7 separate regions of the Homo sapiens genome follow, and all the other regions are linked to region 1. Evidence: promoter capture Hi-C in 16 types of primary human blood cells and fetal thymus (Javierre and others, 2016). All regions are on one chromosome and are shown on one strand. The core of a region is centred on a gene start or on the middle of the fragment in contact, and the rest is flanking DNA. Distances in the headings are between cores, read along the strand shown. Region 1 holds the start of ECT2 (epithelial cell transforming 2). Region 2 overlaps TTC14 (tetratricopeptide repeat domain 14). Region 3 holds the start of NDUFB5 (NADH:ubiquinone oxidoreductase subunit B5). Region 4 overlaps MFN1 (mitofusin 1). Region 5 holds the start of ZNF639 (zinc finger protein 639). Region 6 overlaps PIK3CA (phosphatidylinositol-4,5-bisphosphate 3-kinase catalytic subunit alpha). Region 7 overlaps SERPINI1 (serpin family I member 1).

The links. Contacts are between HindIII fragments. The CHiCAGO score rates a contact against its expected background, and 5 or more counts as called.
Region 2: a contact is called between a fragment that was not itself captured here and the fragment with the promoter of ECT2 in region 1, in 1 of 17 cell types (fetal thymus). The highest score is 6.3, in fetal thymus.
Region 3: a contact is called between a fragment that was not itself captured here and the fragment with the promoter of ECT2 in region 1, in 3 of 17 cell types (total CD8 T cells, naive CD4 T cells and fetal thymus). The highest score is 10.4, in total CD8 T cells.
Region 4: a fragment that was not itself captured here is called in contact with the fragment with the promoter of ECT2 in region 1 in 1 of 17 cell types (fetal thymus); the score reaches 5.5 in fetal thymus.
Region 5: the fragment with the promoter of ZNF639 here is called in contact with the fragment with the promoter of ECT2 in region 1 in 6 of 17 cell types (fetal thymus, total CD4 T cells, non-activated CD4 T cells and 3 more); the score reaches 12.7 in fetal thymus.
Region 6: a fragment that was not itself captured here is called in contact with the fragment with the promoter of ECT2 in region 1 in 1 of 17 cell types (fetal thymus); the score reaches 8.1 in fetal thymus.
Region 7: a contact is called between a fragment that was not itself captured here and the fragment with the promoter of ECT2 in region 1, in 1 of 17 cell types (non-activated CD4 T cells). The highest score is 6.9, in non-activated CD4 T cells.

Annotation. Positions count from the first base shown.
Region 1 is chr3:172,748,332-172,752,693 of GRCh38, forward strand. ECT2 (epithelial cell transforming 2) reads left to right here and starts at 2,395. Exons shown (of 25, transcript NM_001258315.2): 1 at 2,395-2,526. RefSeq lists enhancers at 1,931-2,200, 2,301-2,350, 2,371-2,630 and a silencer at 2,741-2,810. The HindIII fragment of the contact is 5,304 bases long and covers 2,049-4,362 here.
Region 2 is chr3:180,603,597-180,607,958 of GRCh38, forward strand. It overlaps TTC14 (tetratricopeptide repeat domain 14), which reads left to right. Exons shown (of 12, transcript NM_133462.4): 4 at 629-713; 5 at 882-1,011; 6 at 1,256-1,411; 7 at 2,170-2,241; 8 at 2,657-2,776; 9 at 2,885-3,007; 10 at 4,052-4,169. Among named protein-coding and RNA genes, the nearest start is that of TTC14, 3.6 kb to the left of the region's middle. RefSeq lists a silencer at 1,895-2,150. The HindIII fragment of the contact is 437 bases long and covers 2,286-2,722 here.
Region 3 is chr3:179,603,780-179,608,141 of GRCh38, forward strand. It overlaps NDUFB5 (NADH:ubiquinone oxidoreductase subunit B5), which reads left to right and starts at 1,015. Exons shown (of 6, transcript NM_002492.4): 1 at 1,015-1,160. The coding sequence starts at 1,037. MRPL47 (mitochondrial ribosomal protein L47) reads right to left here and starts at 859. Exons shown (of 7, transcript NM_020409.3): 1 at 748-859. The coding sequence starts at 845. RefSeq lists enhancers at 149-1,015, 941-1,140, 1,016-1,882, 1,321-1,480, 1,511-1,600. The HindIII fragment of the contact is 2,024 bases long and covers 1,460-3,483 here.
Region 4 is chr3:179,350,046-179,354,407 of GRCh38, forward strand. MFN1 (mitofusin 1) reads left to right here. Exons shown (of 18, transcript NM_033540.3): 3 at 1,855-1,990. Among named protein-coding and RNA genes, the nearest start is that of MFN1, 4.5 kb to the left of the region's middle. The HindIII fragment of the contact is 238 bases long and covers 1,930-2,167 here.
Region 5 is chr3:179,321,170-179,325,531 of GRCh38, forward strand. It overlaps ZNF639 (zinc finger protein 639), which reads left to right and starts at 1,862. Exons shown (of 6, transcript NM_001303426.2): 1 at 1,862-2,122. RefSeq lists silencers at 1,592-2,031, 2,062-2,201 and enhancers at 2,772-2,821, 3,863-3,962. The HindIII fragment of the contact is 4,241 bases long and covers 1-2,957 here.
Region 6 is chr3:179,151,009-179,155,370 of GRCh38, forward strand. The region is part of intron 1 of PIK3CA (phosphatidylinositol-4,5-bisphosphate 3-kinase catalytic subunit alpha); the gene reads left to right. Among named protein-coding and RNA genes, the nearest start is that of PIK3CA, 4.8 kb to the left of the region's middle. The HindIII fragment of the contact is 7,610 bases long and covers 1-4,362 here.
Region 7 is chr3:167,738,122-167,742,483 of GRCh38, forward strand. All of the region lies in intron 1 of SERPINI1 (serpin family I member 1), which reads left to right. Among named protein-coding and RNA genes, the nearest start is that of SERPINI1, 4.6 kb to the left of the region's middle. The HindIII fragment of the contact is 1,346 bases long and covers 1,540-2,885 here.

The sequences.
Region 1 (4,362 bases), core at 1,145-3,644:
CAGCTTCTGACTCAGTAAGACTAAGTTACTTGTATCATTGTTTTGTAGGTATTTGAATTCTGTGAAAACCTATGCATGCAATAAATTTTTCACCGCAAATACAGCTATCTGCTAGAAGTGCCATGAGAACAAGGCCCATATTTGTCTTGTCACACCTATATTCTCAGTGCTAGCATAGTACCTAATGGGTGCTTAATAGTTATTAAATGAATAAACTATGATTAGGTTAATCAGGACATCCAGTCTCTCAAACATTATGAATGAACTTGGATCTAGCTCATTCACTCTCGAAATATTTATTTGGTACCTACATGTGAAGATTCCTGTGTTTATTAGAGAGCAATGTGTAACATTTGCCTTTGCAGTACTAGCTTTTTGAAAATACCTGAAGATGAGGGATCATGTTTTACTTTACCAGACACCAGCCCTCTGCTAGGTGCAATTAAGTGGCATATGATCACCTATGCACACGATTATCTGAAATACTCCTCTCCACATTGCTTTCTTTGAGCCTGCAGACAGATCTATACTAGACTTTATTTACACTCATCTATTATTTCTGGGTTCTAATGCGGGCTAAAATATTTATTAGGAGACACTGGGTAAGTTACTTAAACCTTTCCTACAGTTTCATGGTATCATGGGACTATGATACCTACTTGTGGGTTGTTTTAAGGATTAAATAAGGTATAAAGTGCATAGTAAAGTATCAGTATGTTCATTCTCTTTCTTCTCTCCCTTATACTGTAATTATCTGTTTATCTGCTAATTTCCCTCACCAGATTGTGTGGTCCAGACAGGCAGTTTTCTATGCCTTATTCATCTTTATAACCCCAACAAGCACAATGGCTGTCTTAAAATTAGTAAATATTTGCTGAGTAAATGAAGACCTAAGAGAGTGAAAAAGGTTGTATTACCCGTTTATTTGTTAATCTAACTGCCACACATCCCTTAAAAGAAATCAAGTACAGCTTTTGTTAGGGAAGCTTAAAATTCATGGCAATGATACCATACACAGTTAATCATTAGCTTTGGAAAGTCTGTTGAGCAGAAAGCGGTGCACAAAGGAAGTAGGGCTGCTTCCCACAATAGCTTAATATGTTTTCAGTGATGAACGTTTTTGGAATGCTGGGCACACCCGACTTCCAAATACGCAAGCACATTCCAAATGGAAATTTCAATTACTGTTTTTCTTTTTTTCTGCCGTAACAGTTATCACAGCATTTTAATGAAGGTCAGACTTAAATACTGACAAGCAGGGAAACCAATAATTACCAGATTGCTTCATTCATTTTGTGGACAGCATTATAAACTTTTCAGGCATTCTAAGATTGCCTGACAAAATTAGAAAAAATTGTTAAGTCCCCACAACCTGCTTGAGATGCTCACAAGTGTTCCATCCCAAAGTACACGTTTGCCTCTTCTTATTGGTATTTAGGTTCTGGCATCTGATTCCCCTTTCTTCTTCTATTTATATTAGCCTTCAGGTGGGAACTATGGAAAACCCACCTGGTGGGGGTGTATTTTTCTTAAGAGATTGTGTTATATGGTATCATATTTAGAAAATAAAGAAATTATTTTCATAATAGCAACGCTAATCACAGGAAAAACTTGATACATTCTTGACTAGACTTTAGGGGAAAGTACAAGTTCTTAGTGGGCGGAGGGGGGCAAAGACGAAGCAATTTGGCTCCAAAAATTCTAGAATCTCGTGGCATATTTTTATCAAATTCAAGCTTATCTTTAAAAAAATCCGAGAATTTTTCTAATTTCTAAGAATTGATTCTAACCCGCGATACTCCCTAGATGGGAGCGCAGTGCTTTAAATAATAGCATTTAAATAAGCGGCTGCTGATTTGAAGTCCACCTGGGGAGTCCGAGTTCTAGGACCGGTCCTTGGCCCTGCCACACGCCAATACAACCATCAAAGTCAAAATCCCTTAACTCAAATTTAAATACATTCCTAAAGCAGAAAGCATCCCGATAGGAAAATCCTACAGCTCACAGCAAGCAGCAGGGAAACATTTATCTCTGGCGGCACTGATTTAAGCTTAAAAGATTTGGTATCGTTTAAAAAAAAAAAAAAGCTGGGTGGGGCCGAGGAGAATCCACCCAAACTTTCCTCAGGAAGTAGGATGTTTACTGAGTAAATATGCGGTAGTCACAGAAACACCTGCTACTCCTTTAAGACCTCAGGAGCCACCACCGCCACCTCCTGGCCACATCCGGGCACTTCTCTGCAAACTCCTGGCGTCCCGACGCCCGAGTCGTTGGGCTTATTTGAAACACACGCACAACCAATCAAGCGGCGCCTGCCGGGACTTGGAGAGCGTCGACCAATCACCGCCCCTCTGGAGACTCCTGCCTATGGGAAAGAGGTTGACATCACGCGCCAATCGGCATGGCTCTTAGAGAGAGCAGCTTAGTTTTTGAATCGGTTGTGGCGGCCGCCGGCGAGGAATGGCGGTATTTGTGAGAGGAGTCGGCGTTTGAAGAGGTGGAACTCCTAGGGCTTTTTTGAGAGTGGTAAGGACTCTGTGTGAGTGAGAGAGGTGCAAGTGGGCGAGCGGCTCCAGAGCCAAGGGCTCTTTTGCCTGCGGTCGACGTCCCCGCCCCTAGTGACCGCGAATTCCGGAGCGCCCCAGCTCAGGCTTCCCGGATCCGGGAACTCCCTCGCCGCACCCCACCCCCAGCAGCCGGGCCCTGACGCGGAGTGGGAGACCGAAGCCCCCAGTATTGCTGGGCATCTTCGCCCTCACCTGTTGGCTCTTTTGGACAGAAGAGTGTGGGTGAAGGGAGGGAGTTGGGAAAGGGATTTTGGCAAGCCGCGCAGCCCTGTGGCTTTGGGGGCCGGCACTTGCAGCCTTTGGGGGCTTATCTCAGAGTGCGCCGTGGTTTTATTCTAGGATTCATCCTGGCTTCTTTGCGGGAAGTTTAATTTTTCGTTTTTGCAAGATAAATCCAGGCCATCCGCCCCTCGTCCTCCCCAGCCACCCGGCACAGATGTGTCCGGCTTAGTGGTTAAAGGCGCAGCCTCTGGATTTAGCCGGGCTTTGAATACCTCTTTTACCCCTTACTAACAGTTTGACTTAGGGGAAGTTGCTTAACCTCTCTGTTCCTACGTTTCTTCATCCATACATTGAAAATAATAATAGTACCTGCCTCTTAGGATTACTGCAGAGATTAAAAGGTTTAGGACAATGTCTGCCACGTATTAAGCGTTAAGTAAATGTCAGTTGTTAATAGTAATGTTATTGTTAATAACACCACCATTATATCTTGGATTGCATTTTAGTCCTTCACCTTGGAAGATGATTGCCTAAAAAGTATTTAAGTAAAAGGAAACTTGAATGTTTGTTTACATGGCAAATTTTATCTCTGGGATAAAAGGGGGCATGTGTTATAGTGTGTTTAGTTAGAAGCTCCTTGGGTCTGTTCTTGGGTGAGAAGCTGTGTAGGTTTATGAACACTGATCCTATTGTGCTTATTTTAAAGGCTTCTGGAATACAGTAATTTGAAAAAAAGTGATTAATATATTTCCATTTCTAATCTGACTGTTGGATGTTAGTTATGTCATCAAGTTACCGTAGTGCATCTCTTTTTCTCTATACATTTTGAAGCTGTTTTGGCAATAAATTGATCATATACAGTATCATCAGGGGCAATTTTAATTATTAATCATCTGCTTTCGATCATCTGCTATGCTCCCTCCCTTTTATTAATCATCTGCTTTTGATCATTTGCTGTGCTCCCTCTTAAAGAGGGAGGCATAGGAGAAAAATGTAAATATTTTCAAGAAGTTTTTTTTTTTTTTTTAGACGGAGTCTACCTCTTGTTACCTAGACTGGAGTGCAGTGGCACGATCTCGGCTCACTGCAACCTCTGCCTCCCGGGTTCAAGCGATTCTCCTGCCTCAGCCTCCTGAGTAGCTGGGATTACAGGTGCCTGCCACCAAGCCCAGCTAATTTTTGTATTTTTAGTAGAGACGGGGTTTCATTGTGTTGGCCAGGCTGGTCTCGAACTCCTGACCTCGTGATCCGCCCGCCTTGGCCTCCCAAAGTGCTAGGATTACAAGTGTGAGCCACCGCGTCCGGCCTTTCAAATGGTATTTTTGATTTTCCTCTTCCAGTCCTTAAAGCAGGTTAGCTCATCTCCTGACTTTTTTTTTTTTTTAAACATTCTTTTAAGGGGACTTTGAATGAAAGCCACTTTAATGCCTTTTCATTGGAAATGGTTGAGTGTAGAAGACTTAAAATAATAGGGCTGGATAGAATTTATCATTGATTCTAAATTAAGGCTGTTACAACTATTGGACCGCTCCTTTGGAGAGCCTTAGAATAATGATTGACATGGATGTATGGT
Region 2 (4,362 bases), core at 1,254-3,753, 7.9 Mb after region 1:
GTTGATTGATATTCAGACTTATTTCTTGTAGTTGAACATATGTATTCTTAATTAGTTAATATTTGGCATTGTATATTTTCATGTGGATAATTTGGAGAGAAGTTTCATTTATATATTTACAATAATTAAATGTAAGTGGTTTGTACATTATATTAAGATACTTTGCCCAAGATGGATAGTCCTGAATTTAAACTAATGTGTCACGATAAAAGATTGGGTATTTGCCATCTATCCAGGCAGATAAAAAGGAAGAAAAGCAGAAGGTATTACAGATTGGATAACAGACAAAATACTTTGGAGAATTGGCATTTCATTTTCACTGGAATCCTTATACCTTTTAGACAAATTTTAGTTTGTTTTTGATGCATGTTGTATACTGTCATAAGCCATCATATTTGGTTCCTAAACTAATGGAAAGTTTCATGAGATTTTAGTTTTTTAACTGAACCAGCAAACATATTTTACTGTGTTTGGACACGGAAATTACTTTTAACTAAATCCTTATTTAAATTTTTACTTTAGGTTGTTCAACTACTAGCTGTTTCATACCAAACAACTAAGATAAAAGAAGACACTGTTCTTATCAAAGCTTGAAATGTCTGGTGTTTTAAAATACTTCTCATTACAGGCTCTTTGTCCCTTAAGAGATGTGCCTTCTCACAGTAACCATGGGGATCCTTTATCATATTACCAAACTGGTGACATCATTCGAGGTGATTAGTTTCATCATACTAATAAAAAAGTAATGATTGTTGAATTTTTGTTTTTATTAATTTAAAAAAATACAGTCTAAGAGGGTAGTGTTTGGGAAAGTTTATATTTTTTATGTTAGTTTACATTTTCTTACTAATCAGCTTAGTTCTCTTTTTTTTTTTCTTAAGCTGGAATCAAGGATATTGACAGATACCATGAAAAGCTAGCAGTATCTCTGTATAGCTCTTCTCTTCCACCACACCTATCTGGTATTAAATTAGGTGTAATTAGCTCTGAAGAGCTTCCTTTATACTACAGGTAATTTATCCGTATTATTTCAACAACAGTTCATTACAAAAGTCTCTTGGATTGAGGAATACCACATTTTTATAACGGTTAAATTACTTCAGACTTGGTAAAAGGAAACCATATCATAATATTGCCACACCATCTTATGCAAAAAATGGAATTAGTATTTAAACCTCAAATGATATTATTTCTTTACTAGAAATGGAATGTCAAATTAGTCATTTTACAATTTTTGTGTTTGTATTTTTTTAAGGAGAAGTGTTGAGCTAAATAGCAATTCTTTGGAGTCCTATGAAAATGTCATGCAGAGTTCCTTGGGATTTGTTAATCCAGGAGTAGTTGAATTCCTTCTAGAAAAACTAGGAATAGATGAATCTAATCCACCATCTTTAATGAGAGGCCTACAAAGGTATAGTACATCAGTATTACTCTTAGATGGTGAGGGGAGTGGCAGTAAGCTCAGAAGCTGCGTTTAGCTGAAGGACGTATTTTACCATCCTAAGCCACCTAGTAGCAGGCATATGCCAAAGGTTGAATGAACCAGGTGATCCCATCTTCTGGACTGGACTGTCTTATCAGTGATTAATATGTGTACCATGTAACCAAGTAGAGAAGGATGCAGAAACTTTTTATAAGAATTTTGTGTGTATGCTAAAGAAAAATACTGGGTTTTTTTGTTTTTTGTTTTTGTTTTTTGAGTCGGAGTCTCACTGTGTCACCCAGGCTGGAGTGCAGTGGCGCTATCTCAGCTCACTGCAAGCTCTGCCCCTGGGTTCACGCCATTCTCCTGCCTCAGCCTCCCAAGTAGCTGGGACTACAGGTGCCCGCCACCACGCCTGGCTAATTTTTTTTTCTTTGATTTTTAGTAGAGTTGGGGTTTCACCGTGTTAGCCAGGATGGTCTCAATCTCCTGACCTCGTGATCCACCCGCCTCGACCTCCCAAAGTGTTGGGATTACAGGCGTGAGCCACCGCACCTGGCCAAGAAAAATACTGTTTAACAATAATAATCATTTCGAAAGTTCAAAGATTTTGGTATGTAAATAGAATGCAGATTTCTTGCTTGGGATTCATACTTTCACTGTCGAGTGCCTGTCAAGCAGAGTTAAGTATAGTTACTTAAAAAATATTTGTGGTTTAACTTTTTAATTTTTATTTTCTTTAATAGCAAAAATTTCTCTGAAGATGATTTTGCTTCTGCATTGAGAAAAAAACAATCCGCATCTTGGGCTTTAAAATGGTATGAAGACTGTCTTTCAACAATTGCATTATATCTAGTCTAAAAGCTTAGGGCAAGGCAAGCATGCTTATATCATCAATAAGACAAATTTGAGATGCATTAAAGTGATGCCTTTTTGACATGAGCTTTTCTTTTATAGATGTAAGTAGTCTTACATTTTACACTTAACAGATAAGTTTTACTCAGCATTTCAGTTTTCTCAAAAGGAATTAGTATATTGATATCTAGGTTTCACCAATATTTGTTGTGAAAATGTCCAAAGGCAGAAGAACGTTCCTTAGGTATATTGTGAGTACTCTGAAAACTAAATATTTTGCCAAGTTTGATGACATTTGCTTTTAAAACTTATTCACACTAACATTTTATTTAGATATTGTTTGAAGTGTTTGTGATGCTTTACAAATGTCTTTTTTAGTGTGAAGATCGGAGTTGACTATTTTAAAGTTGGACGCCATGTGGATGCTATGAATGAATACAATAAAGCTTTGGAAATAGACAAACAAAACGTGGAAGCTTTGGTAGCTCGTGGAGCATTGTAAGTGAATCATACATGGATTTTAAGGAATGTTTACCAGGTAAATGCGAACAAGATTTATGAAGAGCTTGTGAGATACAGCCCTCTATCTTTGTTTCATGTCTCTAGATATGCGACAAAAGGAAGTTTGAACAAAGCAATAGAAGATTTTGAGCTTGCATTAGAAAACTGTCCAACTCACAGAAATGCAAGAAAATACCTCTGCCAGACACTTGTAGAGAGAGGAGGACAGTAAGTATCAGATTTTGTTTAATAGTGGAGGTCTAATGTTCAACCAACCACTAAAAAATTTTGAACTTAAGGAAATAGTTTCTTAAGCACTTAATTTATAACACTCTTGGTTTCAATAAATAAATGGGAAAGTACAAGAGATTAGGCAAATACTCTTTTCCTAGATAATATACTCAAAAGTTTTTGGTTTAATGACTATACTATTTGTGTAGTCATTCCTGTTTGTGATCACAAATTCCAAGTTGATTAAATTTTGCAATATTCGTTTATAATTTATAGGAACTTCTATTTAATGATTGGAGCAGCTTTTTACATACTTACTAGGTGGATAACTAGTAACTACTTATATGTGGTTGTCTTATAGCCTTGTATTGATGTCTTTGAGCTGAGTGAATAGCAATACCCTGTAGTTACCTAAGCCAGAGATACTGTTCATCTTTGACTTGTCCTTTGTTTCCCATATCCAGTCTACTGACACAAAAGTGATCCCATTGTATTTGTTTTATAGTAATTTCTTTTTCCTTCTAAGAACCCAAAGCACTTTGCAACATCTTTTGACTGCTTTATGTCCAAACTTTCTCATTCTGGTGTTTCACAACCCAGACTTGTGAAATTCATCTAATGATTATGCTATTTACAGGCTCATTGTGATATATGTGTATGTTGGTATTTCCAAAGATTTCCAAAATTTTCTGTAGATAATTTTTCATAAACTACTAGGGAAAAAAGCCTGCTGGTATAATTCTGTGCTAAAATTCAAGATCATACTAAATTTGTGGACACCCATTTATCATGGGTTTTTGTGTATTACTGCAAAAATGTGCCAATATTGGACATATACCTTTAGTTACTAGTAAGATTTCTGTTTATGTGGTCTATGAAATAAATTACAGTAAAAAGCATATTATTTTGGTATTTTATTTTGGAAAATAATTTACTTGGCTTTTCCCTAATAAGCTCTCTCATATAAGCCTTTGACCTGTATGCATATTTGGATAGTTTTGTTGTTTTTACAAAAAAGCTAAATCTTTCTTTCAAATTTAGGTTAGAAGAAGAAGAAAAGTTTTTAAATGCTGAAAGTTACTATAAGAAAGCTTTGGCTTTGGATGAGACTTTTAAAGATGCAGAGGATGCTTTGCAGAAACTTCATAAATATATGCAGGTGATTCCTTATTTCCTCTTAGAAATTTAGTGATATTTGAAATAATGCCCAAACTTAATTTTCTCCTGAGGAAAACTATTCTACATTACTTAAGTAAGGCATTATGAAAAGTTTCTTTTTAGGTATAGTTTTTCCTAATTGGGTTTGACATTGCTTCATAGTGCCTCTGTTTTTGTCCATAATCGAAAGTAAA
Region 3 (4,362 bases), core at 1,222-3,721, 6.9 Mb after region 1:
GCAGTAATTCAAAAATCCTGTTTTTAAAAAATAGTTAACGACCTGAGATGATTTGAAACTAAATAATGAAGTTTATCACAAGTGTTGTATCCCTACCAAAAATATTTAGCCTAAATCTTATAATGAGGAAACAATCAGACAAATCCAAATGAATAAGATTCTTAAAAAGCTAATCTCATCAAAATGTCAACAACATTAAGAAAAAAAAAAAAAAGAAATTGTTCCGGATAGAGACTAAAGAGTCATGGCAACCAATGTAATAAATGGATACTTCACTGGATCCAGGACCAAGAAAAATAAATAAATAAAAGAAGTTACTAAGTTACCAGTTACTTTCATTGTAACACATCCTGTAAATACAAATATCTCTTCTTTTTTAATCCATCCAAACTTGACACAGACTTGAGTATCACAACAAAAACATCTTCGGTAAAGTTTTTCGCACCTCACCCAGCCCAAGAGGATGCTTCTGTACTTATAGATGTATTTACTTCAACAAATGCTGGACATCTACAAACCCCATATACTGTCTTGTCCACAGCAGGCAGCAACAAAATGAGGAAGGAATAGAAATGTCGGAGGTGAGCGACTTCTCCAAGGTCACTCACTCCTCACCAAAGTGGGCTCCGGCTCTGCCATCCAGGCGGCCGTTCCATTCTTGAGTTGTTCTCGGCATCTCGGCATCTCGGCAACCAAACAAGATCCAAAGTTGGAGAGGTGGGCAAACCTACTTTATACATCACTTACCCTGTGCAGGCAGGGACCTGAGGAGTTATTAACGATCGGGAAGATTTCAGGGCGGATGAAACTCTCCTACAAAGAAGGGCCAAACCGGCCGCAGCCATGTTTTCGCATAACTGGCAAAACGCGTTTCCGCCAACGATAGCGTCACTTCCGGCGTCTCAAGCCGGCGGTGAGGAGAATAGAAAACTTGCCCTCACTTAAGATGGCCACATCCTGCCTTTGTCCTCATTGGTAAATTGGCTCTCTCAGCTTCCGTGACCCGCCTCCCTTCTTCCTCCTGCCCGTAGTAGCCATGGCGGCCATGAGTTTGTTGCGGCGGGTTTCGGTTACTGCGGTGGCAGCTCTGTCTGGCCGGCCCCTTGGCACTCGCCTCGGATTTGGGGGCTTCCTCACTCGTGGCTTTCCGAAGGCTGCTGGTGGGTGCTGGCCTAGGGAGAACGGGCGTGAAGCGGGTGCGGGGCGAGAAAAGGGAGGACGCTTCCAGGGTGACCTTGGTGGGATCCGGAGGGAGCCGGGACAAGTTGTGGGCTTGGGGCTTGACAGGAGAGACGGAGCACGAGCTATATGAGGGGTTTTCCTGAAGTAGCCAGATAGATCGTGTTTACATTATTAGCATTTCTAAAACGTTGTTATTCACCATCCCAATTAATGCTAATTTGCGGATGAAGCTGAGTCTAGAAAGGTATAGAGCTGAGATCTGTATCTCTAGGGCACAAGCTTATTGTTGCGTTCCACCTGCCCAAAGGCTAGGTTCTAGTCCCACAGATGCAAAGTCATCTTGCCGAGAAGCCCACCTATGCTAAGGAATATGAAGACAGGTAATATGTAGACAGGTAAAGAGGCTCAGGGCCAACTTATTCTTTAGGCACAGTAAGTACCGTGCCGCCCAATAATGAGATGCAGATGAACTGGGGAGGAAGAGAGGTTTTTGTTTTGTTTTGTTTTGTTTGTTTGTTTTTTGAGACAGAGTCTCACTCTGTTGCCCAGGCTGGAGTGCAGTGGCGCGATCTTGGCTCACTGCAACCTCCGCCTCCTGGGTTCAAGCGATTCTCCTGCCTGAACCCATGATAGTTTTAGGGGTCTACGAAAGTCTTTTAATTTAAATTTCTTTTTTAAAAAAACCATAATGTTTATGAATATGATAACGAATCCAGCCTGTATTATGTTCGTTTTATACCAATGCAGTCATAAAATATTATTTTTAATAACTTAGACGAAGGGGCCCTTGAAGGCAAAAGTGCCTAGGTCTCAGGAAAGTCATAATACAGTCTTTTTTTTTTTTTCTTTTGAGACAGTCTCACTCTGTCACCCAGGCTGGAGTGCAGTGGCACCATCTTGGCTCACTGCAATCTCCACCCCCCGGGTTCAAGCGATTCTCCCGCCTCAGCCTCCCCAGTAGCTGAGGCTACAGGTGCACACCACCACGCCTGGCTAATTTTTGTATATTTAGTAGAGATGGGGTTTCACCATGTTGGCCAGGCTGGTCTCGAACTCCTCACCTCAAATGATCCGCCCACCTCAGCCTCCCAAAGTGCTGGGATTATAGGCGTAAGCCACTGCACCTGACCAATACAGTCTTAATAGGGCTATTTGGACCTCCTTGGAGACAGTGAGTTGCATCATGGCGGTGTGAATAATCATAGCAAAGATCAAATGCTTGATATTCAGTGTACTTTATTATCTCAGAGACTCTGCAAAGAAATTACAATGTTATTTTCATTTTACAGATGAGGAAACTGACTCAATTATTAAATAATGTGTCACTAAATAATAGCCAACATTTACTGAGCACCTGTTACGTGTCAAGCATCCTTTTTTATTTTTATTTTTTTCAAGACGGAGTCTTGCTCTGTTGCCCAGGCTGGAGTGCAATGGCGTGATCTTGGGTCACTGCAACCTCTGCCTCCTGCGTTCAGGCGATTCTCCTGCCTCAGCCTCTTGAGTAGCTGGGATTACAGTTGCACGCCTCCATGCCCGGCTAATTTTATGTGTTTTTAGTAGAGATGGGGTTTCATCATGTTGGCTAGGCTGGTCTCGAACTCCTGACCTCGTGATCCACCTGCCTTGGCCTCCCAGAGTGCTGAGATCACAGGCGTGAGCCACCCCACCTGACCTCAAGCATCATTTTAAGGGTTTAAAGTATTAATTTATTTAATCCTCTTCATTAGATATATACTGTAAGCTATTTGCCCTGTGCAATAGAAGCAGGTAAAGAGGAAGTGAAACACTTAAAGTCAGAAAGTTGTCTCCAGCCTCAAAATATCTTGTTCTCTTTTTACCCCTATTCTCCCAGTTTAATTTGAATTATGCCACTCCACAGGATGAGGCAATATACATAGGGATTTGCTGGAAACATGATGCAAAGAACCAGTGGTATTTAACAAATTTCCAGCAGGAATTTGAACTTGTTACAAAACTACATTCCTTGATGAAAATCCCTTTATAAGCCATTTCTGATTACAGATATTCTCATATAGCCAAATACAAATCCTTCAAATACTCGCTCTGGTAGTATTCAATCAAATCCAGCTGGAGATAAACTGCAGCAAAATTTCACCCCCAGTTTCTCTTTCCACATTATTGCCCTTTCTTGGGGTTCTCAAAGGATCATTACCGTGTTCTGCGCCCTTTCCAATCAGAGCAGGGAAGGTTCTAATAGCTATGTTTACTAAAGGTTACTGTGTTTTCAGCTGTGTACCTGCTTTCAAAGGTATTTTGCATCTGTCACTGTGATATGAAAGCTTTTAATCTCTTACATGGTTGTTTATATCTGTCCCTACAAGAATGTAAGCTCTAATGTAGTAGAGAGCCTGTCTTGTTTTGTTTTTTCTGGAGATAGACTGCCTATCTTCAAATTCTGGCTCTAGAATTCAGAAGCCATGTCTGTGATCATCACATCTTGGAAGCTAAAGTGGAAGACACCTAATTGCTCATAACCTGCATTTCCTCCTCTTTAAAAAAGATGAGAATTTTAACCTGCCTCAAAAGGTAGTTGTGAAGAGTGAGTGGAAAAAATCAACAGTGCCTGGCAGCAGTAGCCTTTAAAAAAATTGTGGTAAAGTACACATAACATTTACTATTTTAACCATTTTTAAGTGCACCGTTCAGTGGTATTAAATACATTCCTAATGCTATGCAACCATCACCATCATCCAACTCCAGAACTTTTTTCATATGGTAAAACTAAAACTCTGTATCCGTTAAACAATAACTCTCCATTCCCCTTCCACGTAGCCCCTGGTAACCACCATTCTGCTGTCTTTATGATTTTGACTACTCTATTTCTCATGTAAGTAGAATCATATAATATTTGTCTGTCACTTAGCATAATATCCCCAAGGCATATTTATGTCGTAGCATATGTCAGAATTTCCTTCCTTTTTAAAGCTGAATTGTCCGTTGTCCATTGTATGTATTTACCCCATTTTGCTTATCCATCATCTGTCAATTGGGTTGCATCTAGGTTTTGTTTGTTTGTTTGTTTGTTTTGTTTTTGAGACAGAGTCTTGCTCTGTCTTCCAGGCTAGAGTGCAGTGGCACCATCTTGACTCACTGCAACCCCTGGCTTCCCGTGTTCTCATATCAAACTGAAGGTCAGGCTGCTATTTCTTGCCATCC
Region 4 (4,362 bases), core at 799-3,298, 6.6 Mb after region 1:
GGAGGCTCGAGGAGGGAGAATCGCTTGAACCTGGGAGGCAGAGGTTGCAGTGAACCGAAGTCGCCCACTGCACTCCAGCCTGGGTGACAGAGTGAGACTCCATTTCAAAAAAAAAAAAAGATTATGCACCTCTCAACTATACAATGGAAAGGGAGGGATTCTGTAAATTTTTCCAGCGACAGTGGGGAAACCTTTGGTAGATTGGGAATCAAACTTTTTTTTTCATGTCTCTCCCAACCCTCTCTTACCATATTTTGAGCTCCTTTAGGGCAGGAGCCTGGGATTCATTGTATTCCTAGCACCAGACTTGACACAATTCAATGCTGAATGAGAAAAAAAAAATAGTAGTATAGAATCTTTGTTTCCAATTAGGAAATAATTTGAGCTGGCACAGTTGACTTTTTAAAAATATTTTTTTTTCTAAAAATAATAGGAAGTGAAAATGAAGTTAAATGTGTATTGTACGTGTTATAGATCATGCATCATGCTAGGCACTAGTGAAATGACAGCTTTAGAATCTGAATTCAGTTGTACAGGTTTTAGAACCTCAGTAAAAATGTTGCAAAAAGGAGACAAAGCAAATAAATCAAGAAAAACATACAAGAGCAAAAATAAAATGAAAAGCAAAAATAAATGTAATGATACTTAAACCAGTCTGTCCGTTATTCACCAAATTGCACATATTTTATTAATGCGTTAGAAAAGTATGGTGAGATATGAGAAGCTTAATTGGATGTGCACTGGAGAAGTTTTAAGTGGCAGTGTTTGTCTCTAATTAGGGTCATTCAGATAGCCAGATGAATCTTTTTGTTTTTGTTTTTGTTTTTTTGAGACGATGTCTCACTCTGTCACCCAGGTTGGAGTGCAGTGGCACCATCTCGGCTCACTGCAAACTCTGCCTCCGGATTCAAGTGATTTCCAGCTAATTTTTGTACTTTTAGTAGAGATGGTGTTTTACCATATTGTTCAGGCTGGTCATGAACTCCTGACCTCAAGGGATCTGCCCACTTCGGCCTCCCAAAGTGCTAGGATTATAGGCGTGAGCCCCCACGCCCACATGAATCTTCATGTCTTTACCTTCAAAAAGAGGTGATAAGAATGTAAACATCAGGTTATCTCCTATTCCTGAGTTATAAAAAAAACTGAAAGATTTTTCTATTTTTCAAACCCAGGCTTTTTCAACTACCTCCAGCCATGGAGGAGAGGTGAGGGCTGGGATGTGCGGTTAAACCCTAAACCTGATAAGAGTGAAAGTGGGATACAATCTGATGAGATCGAGTGCATTCAGGGTGGTATGGCTGTAGATAGGATACAACCTGTAATTCTCTTTCTTCTCTGTCTTTGTGTTAAGTGAGCTGTTTCACCTCATCCCTGGGGGAAGCAGATAGAACGTGGTAAAGTAGCAAGGTCTTTCCTAGCTTGGAGACCTTGCACTGTATCTTAATTTCTGAGGGGCTCCTATTCAAACCTCACTTTTTTCTCTCAGTATGTGGCTCCCCCTTCTGAGCTCAAGATCTGAAGATCCATTCAGTCAGGTTGGAACAATAATAGGTCAGTGTTAGGTTCTAGTTTCTCTCTTTAGAAATGTATTCTTGTCTCAAGGGTAGCTTGTATGTTTGAGACCTAGAAGTCCACTTTTGACTGTGCCCTTGCAACTTTTAATATTCTTGAAATTCTTTTGGGCGGGATTCTTGTGACCCATTGCCACGGAGTATGCACCTTTTACCAAACATTGAGATGCTGTGGGTGGCATGTTAACATAAAGCAAAAATACATACAATCTTAGGTATTCCATTATATAACTAACTTAATATTCATTTATATCACTTTTCTAATGCCATTTCAATTTTGCAGCAACATATAAGAATCCGGAACTTGATCGAATAGCCACTGAAGATGATCTGGTAGAAATGCAAGGATATAAAGACAAGCTTTCCATCATTGGTGAGGTGCTATCTCGGAGACACATGAAGGTGGCATTTTTTGGCAGGTAATTATTTATTATTACTTCTAAGATTAGTTTCCAGGAATCAGCTTTGTGTCTGATGTTTCAACAAGTAATATTTCTCCCATCCTCCCCCAGCCCCGCAAGTTTCTGCCTGTGTTGAATGTTAAAGCTGTTAGCATGTGAAAGAATTTGTGCATTTTACCTCCTGGTATAAAATGAAGCTTTATGAAAGTCAATCATATTTTTACCTTTTAATGATTCTCATCTCTAAGAATTGGCTTGTAGACAGTTTTAAGAATGGAAATATAGATAAATGATAAGCATACTTTGTGTTTTACTCTTTTAAGTTTACTTGATTATGTGAAAGTTTCAGAAGCTAGGATGAAATCACTTTTGTCATACCTAGACAGGCCTAGAAGGAAAGAGGCTCTTGTCTGAGATAACTATTTCCAAGGACTTTCTAGAAATTCTTTCAAATCTCCTGCTTTGATAAGACTTATCAATAAACATACTTTAGGACTGCCTTAATTCAGATAAAATGTTTTCAGGAGAGTTCTTGCCCAGTAATGGCATCTCCGCCAATGAACTGACAATAACTGGCGTTGAACCTCTGGAACCAAATAACTCTTGTTTCTAGGCAGCTTATGTAAATCTCTTTTTGCTAATAGAAACCCCTCTTACCCTCACTGAATGCACTGGTATGCCATTCCATGCATTCCAGATTATAATCTTTATTTTTGATTCCCAAGTAAACTCAGCATTTTTTTTTTCCCCCTGAGAGGGAGTCTCACTCTGTCTCCCACGCTGGAGTGCAGTGGCACAATCTCGGCTCGCTGCAACCTCCACATCCCGGGTTCAAGCGATTCTCCTGCCTCAGCCTCCCTAGTAGCTGGAATTATAGGCGTGTGCCACCATACCTGGCTAATTTTTGTATTTTTAGTAGAGGTGGGGTTTCACCATATTGGCCAGGCTAGTCTTGAACTCCTGACCTCAGGTGATCCACCCGCCTTGGCCTCCCAAAGTGTTGGAATTACAGGCGTGAGCCACCGCATCCAGCCTAAATTTTTTTTTTTTTTTTTGAGACAGAGTCTCAGTCCGTTGCCAGGTTGGAGTGCAGTGGCACCATCTCGGCTCACTGCAACCTCCGCCTCCCGGGTTCAAGCAATTCTCCTGCCTCAGCCTCCCTAGTAGCTGGGACTACAGGCGTGTGCTGCCACACCTGGCTAATTTTTTTTTTTTTTTTTTGTATTTTAGTAGAGATGGGGTTTCACCATGTTGCCCAGGCTGGTCTCGAACTACTGAGCCCAGGCAATCCGCCCACCTCGACCTCCCAAAGTGCTGGGATTACAGGCGTGAGCCACCGCGCCTGGCCCCAGCATAATTTTTATATTTTTATTAGAGATAGGGTTTCACCATGTTGGCCAGGCTGGTCTCAAACTCCTGACCTCAAGTGAACCACTCACCTCGGCCTCCCAAAGTGCTGGGATTACAGGCGTGAGCCACTGTACCTGGCTAATTTAGAGGTGATTTTCTTTAGTGTCTTTCTTAAGTTTGACAATTATCTGGATTATGGCGGGGAGAAAAAGGCAGTGATCAGGTACGTCTTCCAAAATTTTCAACTCCATCATTCCTAGAGGGAGAGTAGGAGGCGTACATTGGTGTAACAGTCCAGAGTGATAGGGTGATCTCTGCCACAGCTTATATGCAAAGACAAATGACTAGCTCCATAACTGGTTATTCAGCTATCTGTGCTGTGTACCAACAGAGGCATTTATTTACTAAATAACTTCATAGGCCTTCTAAGCTATTTTCCCATCGTAGGGCTTTTGCCCTTGCAATTCCCTTTGCCTACAACTCACCTTTCCTTGTTGTAGCTACGTCTAGTGCCTTCTCATTCTTCATATTTCATCCTAAATGTTACTACCTTGGACACCTTCTCTGACCACCCTATCTAAATTATTCCTTCTCAGTTATTTTCTGTTAAAGCATCCTCTTAATGTCTTTCAACACTTTTCACAAAGCTCTTATTTTATGTTTTTATTTTCTGCTTCTCCCATTTGACCATATTCTCAGGGCCTTACACAGAGTCTGGCATGAGACAGCTCCATTTAAAAAGATCCTACTTCAGATTAGGGTGGAGTAGGAAGGAAGAGCCTCCTGGGAAGGTGATGACTCAACTGTCCTACTGAGAATGAGAAATAGGTATAGCTTTGGATGTGAAAAAGGTCCAAAAGCTCATTTCTTGCAGAAAGCCATAAATAGAAAGGGGTAGGGAGACCACAGTGTGTTTGGAGAACTCAAGTAGTTGAATTTAAGGTGTTACGAAACAATAGCAAAAGAAGAGACTTTGTAAGCAAAAGTCAGATTGTAAAAGACCTTGTATTAATATATCATGGTAAGGCGTTCTGCATTCT
Region 5 (4,362 bases), core at 612-3,111, 6.6 Mb after region 1:
CTCGCGCCTGTAATCTCAGCTAATCTGAAGGGTGGGGCACGAGAATTGCTTGAATTTAGGAGGTGGAGATTGCAGTGAGCCGATATCCCATCTCTGTACTGGAGCCTGGGCGACAGAGTGAGACCGTGAGAAAGAAAAAAGAAAAAAAAGAAAAGGAAGGAAGGAAAGGAAGGAGAAATTAAGCTATTCTACAAGTGTGTGAAAAAGTTGGAAGAACGATGTTTTAATAGCCCTGAATCAAATTTATAATAGTATTTAACAAACTCTACAATTTAGCACTCTTGAGATTTTAGGGTTTTATCCCAGCTATCACCCTCCCTTGGAGCGGGAGATGAGGAAAAGAGGGACCCAAAAATGAAACTGAAAAACACTCCAGCTAATCAAGAACTTGAAATTGCTTGCAATTTGTGACTATGTTAAACAACATCTAAACAAAGTCAAGCTCCTCTAAGTGCAAACAATACGTGGGATGCTGGGGAGAGTGTGCGTTTACTTTCACTACAAAATGTTTTGGAGTAAAACTTCATTTTGAAATATAAAGATTTTGTTGGACACAAGGCTATGTGGTAAGGCAAAATGGTAAGATGGTGGCATGACACCCCCTTGTGGTTTCCACCGATTCCCGGTTCTGTGCTAGATACTAACTATTCTAGGATTTAAAAATGTCTCTACATTTCTTCGAACTTTAATTCGGGCCATACTAGCATTCGTGAGCATTTATTTGAGCTGAGTACGCACATAAAACTTAGGAGGTCATAAAAACTGAGCCTCACAAACAAGTAGTGTCTCTTTCAAATATAGCTTTATCTCCTGGGGGATGGTGAAGGGATCAGAGTAAAGTCTGTGATTATTACTTTCCAGCGATTGATTGGTTGATTGGCATGTGGTTGTCAGAAAAAGCAGTGGACGTGAACAAAGAGACATCATTGCAGCCCTAACTATCCGAGTGACCTTGGGTACCTGATAATCCACATGGCTCTCAGTCATCCTCTTAACCGTTTGAACCTCAGGGGTTTAGGCTACCAAAATGAATTAAGACCCAGTCTTTAGCTTCTCACACATTTACTTTTCCATTTTGTAAAATGTGACTAAAAACCTCAACTCATTGTCAAAAGGACTGAATTAAACATATCACCACACTTGCACAGAGATCATTTATGGAACCATGTTCACAAATTTATTTATGCTCGTGTAATTTAATCATTTCTACAGCTGCTCAAAGAAAGTCAAAGTCGAGAAAGGACTTAAATCGTCGAGTCCAGTCCCCCTTAACTCCTCATTCATTCCACTATTTCTCGAGCCAAGGAATCGGGTGAAACTCAACAACGACTCGCAGTCTTCAGGTTTCACCCTCTTGCCCTGAGGGCAGCATCCTAGCCCTAGGTGGTTCTCTGGTGTGGCCTCAGTAAAACCGTGACGAGGTCCTCGGCCTCTCTGTCCCCAACAGGCGGCTGGCACACTTCGGGGTCTGAGATGCCATCTGCCTTGCCTAACCTGGGCAAGACCACTCGCGTCCTTTCCCTTGAGGAGCAGCGTGGGAAAGGTGCCGCTGCGCGCCACGTTTCTCCCAGTTCCCCAGGGCTTGAAGGGGCGGTGGAGGCGGGCGGGATAAATTCGCTGGCCGCCTGGCGTGGAGTAATCCTAGAGGGTGGGATCGCCCTCGGGGCTCGGGAGGGGCTCTTCCCCGCCCAGAAGGAGACTGCGGCGGCGCAAGGCCTCCGGCAGGGGGCGCGGGCCGCTGGGCCTCCCCCGGGGCTGCGGGCCGGTGGTCCCTCCCAGGCCGCGTGTGCGGTGCGTTCGCGCAGCCCGCTCCCTGCCCCCACCTCACCTCGTCACCTCCCCGCCCTCTCGGCGGGCCCCTGAGGTGCGCGGCGCAGGCGCGGAGCGTGGCGGCCAGGGCAGTGCGGCCGCGGAGCCTAGGCCAGGGGCCTGGCGCTCAGGGCGTGGGGCGCGCGGGGAGGGAGAGGGGTCGGCCCAGCACAGCGTCCGGGAGCGCTAGGGCCGGAGCAGCGCTGCCCGCCGCCGTGCGTCCGCGGGAAGGACCGCGCGGCCCCTCCGCCTGCGCTCTCGGCCGCCGCCGCCTCTGCGTGGGCCGGCCGGGAGGGCCTCGGGGGACTGACTGGTGAGTGTGAGGGAGGAGCGGGTGGGTCGGGCGCTGGACTGCTCCAGGGGACGCGGGCGTGCGGGCGCATCTTCTAACGGGAGAGGGCGGGAGAGACCGGAGCTCCCTTTATACGGAAACTCTGCCTTCGTTATATGGCGGGATGGCGTTCCCCTCCCCCATCCCGAAGGCAGTTCCACCCCCTGCGCAGGACGCCTTGGCCGGGCTCCCCTCGGCCCCCTGCTGCCGTTGTCTTTACGGAACCTTTGGTGTCGGGGCTTGGAAGTCTCCTTGGCGCCGGCTTCTGGGCCCGGGCGAAGCTGGTGCGTGGCGCCGGGGTGGAGGCGGCTAAGTCCCAGGGACTTCTGCCCTGCGCCTCCGACGGGCATTTGTCTGGCTGCGTCCGGGCTCGGGACGATCCTGGGTCCTCGCTGGCGCTGCGGCCCTGCCCGGCGGCTTCGTGACCTCCGGCGGCGAATCCCCGGGCTCGCGCAACGAGTTGTAGCCGCGGAGAGCAGGCGTCGATGCTGGCGCCCAAAGCCTCCAGCCTGAGAGTCGCCTCACTCGTGTGACGGTGCTTAGAAACCCCCTTTTTTGGTTTTGTCTTTAAGTACTGTCTAGGGAAACGAATCATTTGAAGCAGTTTATGCCTTTTTTGTTTTTTTCGAAGAGAAAGATTTATGCCGGACTGAAAAATAGCGAATCAAGTATTTAGTGACCGTGTGATATTGCAGTAAAGACTGCCTCCACGTTGGACATGTAGTGGATTCTAGTTCAGGCTCTCCTGCAACATGTTTTTGTTTCAATTCTTTTACAATTTAAAGCATATGCTTATTTTAATGAGAACGAAAAAGAAAGCTTAACTCTTTTTAAACTCGTTAAAAATGGAGTTATTTACTGTAAAGACGTCTTACAGCAATTAGGAAGAATATACATTGCATGAAAGGCCTTTTGAAACGTTTATCTATTTGATGATTGCTGACTGCCTGTTGTATGTATTCTATTTTGTGCATAGACTTTCTTGTTGGTTGAAAAAAATGACAGGTGGAAAGATGTTGGTTTCTAGGTGATATAAAAAATTTTTAAACATTTTTCTGATTTTTCTGCAGTGACACGTGTTACATATGTCGTTTGTATTTCAGAGGGAGGGGGGACTGTGATAGGTTGCTTGTGATTCAGAATCTTCCTGCTAAGAAGACTAGTGAGCAAATGTTTATGACATCCTTGAGTAGAAAGCTAAGTTTTTTCAAGGCTGTTATGCACACAAAAGGCACATAAAAATGATTGCTAAAATGAAGGATGGTTAGCATTTTTGGTCTTGAGTAGGCATCACCATTGTGCTGAAAGGAAGTCCGATAGACATTTGGTTATCGTTCGGCCCTAAGTAGGAGTCAGACCCTTCCTGATCCGTGTGCCTCCTCCTCTCACCTAACAGCCTGAATCCAGGCCAGCTTGCAACGTTGATTTTAATACCACGCTTGGTTTCCTTTTCTTACTTTTATTCTTCAAGTTGCAAAGAACTTGAGATGCATTCTGAAATAACAAGAGACTACTTAACATGTTCGGCTGAGTGTTTTCAGTGTTCTCCCTGATACTTTTAGAGTATTTAGAACATGAAGTGTGAAGCTTTGGGCTATATGAATCGTAATAGCTCTTCTCTTTTTGATTTTTGAATGCAGTGAATTGAGATGGTTACTCAAGGAATGATTGTTTACATTGTTAGGTGAGGCGTTTGATTTTATTCTTTTTTCTTTCTTTCTTTCTTTTTTAGACAGAGTTTCACTCCTGTTACCCAGGCTGGAGGACAATGATGTGATCTCGGGTCACCACAACCTCCGCCTCCCGGATTCAAGCGATTCTCATGCCTCAGCCTCCCGAGTAGCTCAGATTACAGGCATGTGCCACCACGCCCGGCTAATTTTGTATTTTCAGTCGAGACGGGGTTTCCCCATGTTGGTCAGGCTAGTCTTGAATTCCCGACCTCAGGTGATCTGTTCGCCTCGGCCTCCCAAAGTGCTGGGATTACAGGCGTGAACCACTGCACCCGGCGAGGTGAGGTATTTTATATATTGGTATCATTTCTGTACATTTCATGGTTGTCTGTTTCTTTAGGCTATTCTGTTCCCCTTCTCCCAACTGGTAGCTAAGAACTGGAAGCAAGATGTGCATGCATTTTCATCTCTGGTTCTCCCACTTATTAGTTGACTTAACTTTCACTAAGGCTGTTTCCACATCAGTAAAAATGTAAATGGGTTTGATAG
Region 6 (4,362 bases), core at 1,153-3,652, 6.4 Mb after region 1:
CTTGAATTCCAAGATAGGGGTGATTCTTTAAATGAAGTGTTTCTTAAGCATTATAAAATATTTCATCTCCAGTGAAAGTATTTACAATCTTAAAAATTATTCAGCTTTAGAAGTATATGTCTTAGAATATCATGGTTTACATTTTATTAGCACAGTTATCAAATAGTTTTTCTTAAGTATTACCTTGAGCTATATTAACAGTGCCGTAGACAGAGTGGTATTACTATCCCTAAGAAATGGTATTCTAATCTGAAGTCAGTTGGCAGGTGACAGACTCATTGACAAAACCAACATTTTCCGACTCCTTTCACTGTATCATGCTGCGTCTAATCTCCAGCCTGTTTTTTAATAGAACTGAAGAAATTAGGGCCCAAGGAGGCTTAATTACTGAAGATCTCCATTTCCTATATTTGCAGTAATATCTTTATTTAATTTCCTTTACATCATGAACAGTGGTTTTCAATCCTGGCTACACATTAGAATAATCTAGGGAGCTTTTTAAAAGTACTCTGGTCTCATCCCCAGAGATGCTCATTTAATTGGTCTGAGATGGATCCCAGTTATCTGTGTTTTGTTTTGTTTGTTTTGAAGTTCACCAGGAAATGCTAATAGAAAAGGATGTAAAGCCCTGGCTGTCAAGGACCTGTATATTTGGTCCTTGCTTCTTTCTCTAGGTTTATTTCTCCTCCCTACTCCTGCAGCTCCCTTGGTCTTTTCATACTCTCCTGTGCAAATACAGTTTGTACTTCCTGAGACATTTGAACACTCCATTCTTCTTTAACTGGTTGACTCCTACTCATCTTTCACATCACCTCCTTTGAAAAGTCTAGCTTGAGTTAGGTATCCCTGCTTCCTGTTCCCATAGCATCGTGTACTCCCACTGTCATAGCATTAACCTCACTGCATTGTAATTGCCTATTTCTTTGTCCATATCCTCTACCAGGCTGTAAATTCCATGAGGATAGGGACTCCTATCTTATATACTGTACAGTAGTATTCTTATTGCCAAGCACAGTAGCCTGTACATTACAGCACTTGACTAAACAAATAAATATAGTAGAGACAGACTTCTTTAAAACATGTAGTGATTCATAAGCACCAGTTTTTATTCTTGCCAATTTCATTTAATATTTTTGGTCACTAAAAATGTACAACCCTGAAATTGCCACACATACGAATTTCATTTGGGGACAGTTGAGATGTTATAAATTGTATAGAGTGGCATTCCACCTCAGACATATACACACACACGCAAAAAATGAAGATTATTATCATATATAGTACTGCACTGGAAATAAGGAGACTTGAATTCTTACCCCTGTTTCACCACAAACATTTGGGCACGTCTCAATCTCTTTGGGTGTCATGTATAATACAGAGGGATTGTACGAGGTGCTCTACATGGTTCTCAGTGATCTAGCCTTAAAATTCTGTGAGTATCAACAGTATTGGCTTTGGAATTTGAGGCACCATGGTTCAAAACCTAGTTCTTAAACTTACTGGCAGGATTACTTTGGACAGATTTTCTTATCTGTAATGGGGGTGATTACTATTCAACAGAGTTGTTGAATTAAATGAGATAATGTAGATCCAAGAGAGTTCTTGCCCTGGATCAGGTGCTTAATAAATGTTCATTTCCTTTCTCCTTAGGAAGTGTTAGATCTCATGAGTGGACTTATCTGAGATAACAGAAGGACACAGTTTATGTAATAAATCCTATTTTCCACTTTGCTGACTGTTAGCACTGCAGGTGTGATTAGGGACCAAAAAACACTGTGACATTTGGTTTCAGTCTCTCAGAACCCCATTCCACTGTCAAACACCCAGGTGTTAGTCAACCTGCTTGGGAAATAATTATGCCTGGAAGTTTCAACCAAGAGAGAATAGCAAGTGCCAAACTATTCACACATATATAATAATATGCAGGAGGGTACAGTCTAAACTGATGAACTTACACTGTCTCCAAAGATAAGTAAAATCAGACTTCATCATTCTAAAAAAAGGAAACAAAATTAAGGATGATTTATAAAAGAAAATCCAAAGATTTTGGTGAAGTCTCTGTTCACCAAACCTTAAAATTCAGGAGCCATTATTTAGTAATTTTCAGGTGATATAAGAAATATAGGAAAAATTGGTCTTCTGGTCAGGACTAATTCCAGAACATAGGCACAAATAATGTTTTCAATTTCAGATTAGCGGTTACAGATATCAGCAGACTGAAGTTATTGATACCTTTCTCTACTTGGGAACTGTGTTTTAAAATTTAATATTGTGTTATATATATCACCTTTATTTATTTGGTAATATTGAAAGTAAACTTACACAGAATGTAATACAGGTTGGACATCCCTAATCTGAAAATTTGAAATTTTATATGCTCCAAAATCTGAAACTTCTTGAGTGCCAACATACGGCCATAAGTGGAAAATTCTACACCTGGCATGTTTGCTTTCTGGTGGTCAAAGGTACACAAACTTTGTTTCATGCATATAATTATTTAAAATACTGTATTAAATTACCTTCAACCTGTGTGTATAAGGTGTATGTGAAACATAAATGAATTTTATGTTTAGACTTGGGTCCCTAGTATGTCTCATTATGTATATGCAAATATTCCAAAATCTGAAATCTGAAATCTCCAGTGTTTTGGATAAGGGATACTCAAAACATTGCTCTGCAGAAGTTTCTTGTTACCAGTCTTATTTTTGTATAAATCAAATTTGCTTGCCTGAGTTTTCCTTTAAGTTTATGTGAAAGTGAATTTTATAAGTAACTTATTCGAAAGAAATACTGTAATAAAAATTAAAAACTGTGGATGGGGGAAACTGAAGTGTTAGGATATAAAAGATAAATATGAGGCAATATATAGTTAAAGTCTGAGGATTCAGCTTCAAGGCTAGAGATTTCCATCATTCAAAAAGATTATTCAGCTATTGGATATACTAATATTTTATCACTGTATACCTTATTCACATTTAATTATTATGTGAATCAGTTGATCCTGGTTAAGGACTTTTTAGGTGTTCTTTCTTTCCCTCTCTACCTATACAGTTTAGGGAGTTTTAAGTTAAAATATTCCAATAAAAAGTTTGTAAGTTTGTAATAAAAGTGGTGGCTTAGAGCTATCTTTTTCTTCAAATAGTTCTTAAAGTGAAACTGTGTCTAATACGTATTAGAGAGCTCTGGTTTAGATGCCTAAAACGGGTCCTCCTGGCCAGCAGACCCAGTACCTGTCCCTGGCCTGTTAGGAACCGGGCTGCACAGCTGGAGGTGAGCAGTGGGGCCAGCATTACCACATGTGCTCTGCCTGTTGTCGGAGCAGCAGCGGCACTAGATTCTCATAGAAGGACCAACCCTATTGTGAACTGCACATGCAAGGGATCTAGGTTGCCTGCTCCTAATGAGAATCTAATGCCTGATGATCTGAGGTGGAACAGTTTCATCCCCAAACCATCGCCCCCACACTTCCCCAATCCATGGAAAAATTGTCTTCCACGAAACTGCTCCCTGGTGCCAAAAAAGTTGGGGACCACTGGCCTAAGGGACTAAATTCCCCTTCGGACTGCTACTTTGTATATGTATATGGTGGGGGACAGATTGTAACACATTTTTGTGTCTTTTTCTATATTGATACAATAGGAATTGTAATGTGTTGCTTGCTAAGTAACATAATGAGATAATTCAAATAATCACAAGTTGCATAAAACTAGGAAAAAATGTGCACATACTAATTATTATTTTAAATTTATATTTAACAGAAGCATAATATTTTATATTTGGCCTGACAATGTACTCATTTCTCAAGCATCACTTTGGTAGTTAGCTTGATAATTTAAATTGTACTCATTTATAAGAGGTTGTGTTTTAGCAACTTTTGTACATTATTGCGATTGTTACAAAGGGGTCTTTATGATGGCTAGCATTGCCATTTGAAATAAATTAGGGATTTTTAAAAATCTATAAGAATTCTTACAGACTATGCTTGTCAGGTACACTTCGGATTTTAAGTATTTGTATAGTAAAGCCAAGGAAATCAGTGTTGTGATGTGAAGAAAAAAACTGTATAGGGATAGAATCATTTTGCTCTAATCATAACTCTCCTAACTCACCAGGAGTTAGCAAGGCTTAGTGGACGAATATGTCTTATAAGTACAACAAAAATATAAGGCACTATTATGAAGAGGATTTTAGGCATATGTTTTTGAACAGGAGGAGACAATGTTGTGTTTATTGTATCCTCAGCACATACTGTAGTGTCCAAATGTAGGTGATCAGTAAGCACTGATCTTTGTGACATAGAATCATATTTAGAAATAAAAATACTTTCTTATATTTCTATCAGGAGCCATACGCTTTATCTGA
Region 7 (4,362 bases), core at 963-3,462, 5.0 Mb before region 1:
TTATAATTCTGTGTAAAATGCTACCCATGTTATAAGCATATTACTTATTTTGCTCTTTAATTTTACTATTTGTGTATGGCTATCAGTGAATATGTATGATGAGAAAGGAAAAGCAACAGAGTGCAGAATGTCTCTCTTGAATGGAAATTGCTCTGGGGATGATTGTTCTTTAGCCAAAAACCTTGGTTAATTTCAAATTACCATATCCTTTGGTCTTTTCTTTAGAGTTCTGATTCTAAGCCTTTTGAGTAAAAATAAGTTAGCATGGATTTCTTTTTAACAGGAAGATTCACTGATGCATGCAGCACAAAAGAGCAAGACTTAAAGGTTCAAGATCAAATGGTTTTGGTAAAGAAGGATACAGGGGAATAGATATAAAGAAAACTACTTGAGAAACACACCTTTAGCAAAAGAGAAAAAAGATTTTATATTTTTTGTTAAATTCCTATAATCCATGATTCCATGACCTTTTCTCCCCCAGTCATTAATTTGTAGAGGCCTGTATTCATACTGGGATACATTACTTTTCTAAGTAAAATTGAATATTCAAAATCCAATGAATACCAGTCTGATTCCAGTTAAAATGGCAATTTTTACTGGAATAAATTTTGGATGATTAACCTTCCTTTTTTATGCTTTTATAACCCATAAATATTCAAAATCTAATGAATACCAGTCTGATTCCAGTCAATTGCCATTTTAACTGGAATCAAACTGGTATTCATTAGATTTTGAATATTCATGGATTATTAACCATAAAAATCCTACCTGTATACACTAACTTCTAAGTGAAACATTATTTGGACAAAATATCAAAAAGTAAATACCTAAACTGATGTTTTGCCCCTTTAAAATAATAAAGGTACTTGAACCAGACACTAAGATGAGCAAGAGCCCATTTATTTAATTAAGCAAATTCCAAAGGTTAAACACTGCTTTTGGGATCAGAATTAACGTACACAAATAAGGGAGAGATTTTTTTGTTGTTTCTTTTTTTTTTTTTTTTTTAAATCTTAAACCTGTAAGAATTTAGTCTTTAAAATTTGGAAGGTGTGTTTTAAGTAACTACGTTATTAACTCTTAGAGACCATGTACTTCTTTTCTATCTCCTGTTAGTCCTGAGCACTTTATGTCATATTCAGCATAAAGAAATTGAGTAACCAGTTACTGAATTAGAACCATTGGACATTGGACAATACTTCTGTAATGCACACATTGAGACAGTTTGCGCTTTGATAGACAGAGTCAGCTGACCTCACAGAATGATTGCTTACACATTAGTCCTTCTGAGAATGTCTTTATGCTAGTTTGCCTTTGCAAAAGTGTTGATTGAGCACAATTGGATTCACACTGTGTGCGCTGCAAATACATTACAGATTTGAGTGCCAGCATTTCTAAATTCATCTCAGAGATAGGATATATAGGCGAGGGTAAAGGAGTCTGCAACTGGTGGCACTTAAGGTCTTAATTTCACAGACAGAAAAACCCAGGGCTCAACCACCATTTAACCTCAAGGCCCTGGAGTTATACCTTTGTTGAAGCTTATCTGTAGAAACCATATTTCATTCTATAAAAACTGAATTTGCTCTTCTGTTTTTCTAATTATTTCTTCCAAAAAAAAAATAGACTGATTTTGTTTAAGCATGTGTGGAGTTGGTCATTAGTTGTTTTTTGCATTTGACCTAGAAACAAATTAATCTGATTGGTGTTAGAATTAAGAATCTAATGTAATTTTTACTTCATTATGATAAGACCTATACAATTCTAGTTAATTGTATATAGTTTTTTAGTAGTAAAATTAATTGTAGCACATATTTAACTATCTTCTGTTTACTTTTACCTTCATGTTGATTTATATAAATTGGCTTGCTTAGAACTGATAATTAACCTGCCTTTTTCTTTTTTTTTTTGCCGCCTTTTTTTTTTTCTGAGACAGGGTCTGACTCTGTCGCCCAGGCTGGAATGCAGTGACCTGATCATAGTTCACTGTAACCTTGAACTCCTGGGCTCAAGCACTCCTCACACCGCAGACTCCCCAGTAGCTAAGACTACAGGCAAGAACCACCATGCTCAGCTAATTTTAACTTTTTATAGAGATAAGGGTCTCACTGTGTTGCCCAGGTTGGTCCAAACTCCTGACCTCAAACAATTCTCTCACCTTGGTCTCCCAAAGAATTGGGATTACAGGTGTGAACCACCATGCCTTGCTGATATTATTCTTAATGATTAGCACTGTGCCTTGTGTAGAGTAAACTTAGTTCATACTATCTTTCTCACCAGATACTTAGTATCTTTAGAGCTAACTCTGAGTTTCATTGACGTTTGTATTCATTTTGAGAATCCTTTTACATAGTTCATACTTGGTAAGTAGTAACAATTTGGATAACTATTTGGTAATCTATAATGAAACATCATTTTGCAAACAAATACAACTAGAAAAATGACTTTTTCTTAGACATCTGTGTTAGTACCAAATTCAGCCCTCTGCCAACAACGGTTGCTTATATTACAGCTAAATATAAATATTGCTATCTTGTTGGATTTCTAAATGAGTAGAACAAATTTTGTTATTAACTGCAAACTTGCGCGCGCGCTTGTGTGCGTGTGTGTGTGCGTGCATGGGCGCATGCTTCAGACATGAATTTATTCATTAGATGCTATTTGGGGTTTATGTGGTCCTTTTCTCTCCTTGCCTCTAGAACTCTGCTGATTTAAAGATGTGCTTTTATGTAATACCTCCCCTCCCCTACACGATTTCCATTACTTTTTTCTTAACAAATAGAGAAAAATAAATAGATGAATGTAATATGAGGCCTTAACTAAAGTTTAACTGGCTGTAAATGTTCCATTTTCAGTGAAAAGGCTGCATTGAGAGACCTTAGTAAAGCTTACATTGTACCTGAATTATACAGGTATTTGTCATCTCTGAGCCATCATGAAGAACGAATGAGTTTTGAGACTTGGCATTGACAGTGCTCAGTGTTGGTCTTCTGTGTATAGCTTGGTGGTGGAAGCTTACAGGGTACCTTCAGTTTCAGCCACTGCTTTGAGGCCCCCTTCTGGTTCTGCCTGGGAAAGGAGACTTCTGAGCTCCTCACAGCTCTTAATGTGGGAAGGAAAACAGATGAAATGTTTTTCATTTAATAACCTTATTTTGTTAAACTGTATTGTTTTTCCCAGGTATATCTCACACCAGGATTCCCAGTAAGAGTAGCTCAAATGTCACACAGTGATTTCTATAGCACAGCCAGGCAATTCAATGAGTACCTATCAACTTGTAGTCCACTCCTAGCATCTTGGCTTTTCTTGAACAGACCCCAAAGAGCCCACTAAAACATTTCTGATATTTTACCCACATTGGATTGCTTCTGTCATTTTCTTGATAACCTAGATTTTGTTGCTTTGAGGTCTTTTAACCAGCTCTAACTTGAAGAGCTAGCTAATTTTATTGTTTTTATACCCGTTAGTAGTATGCTAGAGATACCATATTGTGGTGTATAATTTTTGCCTTTACTTGAATTAAATCAGTTATTGGAGCATTTAATTGTTGTGTACTTCACGAAGCAATTTAGAATCATTGAAGCAATTAGTGTTTTTGAGATATATTCAACCTTCCAGTTAAGAAACCTGTACCTAGTCTCCTAAATTGCTTACAGATGTTAAATCCCTTATTCAATGTCTGTGGCAGGTTAAATAGTATCTTATATCTTATGTCCTTTGACATACAATACCAGATGAAATTATATAATACCAGTAATGTCATAGAATAATTTTTGGCTTTGGTAAATTACGAAACTTTTAAAAAAATTATATTATGAGATTTTGTGCACAAGGTATATTAACTAAATCTAAGGCAACAAAGTTTGTTTTTGTATTTCAGAGTTTCTGATATGTTCTTTTAAAAATGCAAATAACTAGTTATCTAGATAAGAAGAAAAAGCCTTAAAATTTAAAAAATAAATAAGGAAAAAAATTTAAAATGCCAATAACTTTAAAGGTGTAAATAATAGCTATTTGTTAATATAATAGCAGATTTAATTAATAATTAGTAATATAAAATTGAACATTTTGAAAAGGAGAGAAAGAAATCTTATCCAGGATTATCTTAAAAGCAAATTTTTCCTCACATTGCATGGCCCAAAAGTGATTAACAATTTAAAAAATAATTGTAAAGTACAGATCAACTAGAAACGCTTTCAGCTACAAGTTTTATGCACAATGAGATAAAACAATAGGGATTTATTTTTCCAGAACAAGAAGTCTGAGGAGAGTAGTTGTTTGCTTTTTGTTTACAGGCTCGATGTTGTCAGAATTTTGTCCTTGTGATTTCTCTTGTGCTTGCTGTAAGACAGATGCCTCTGT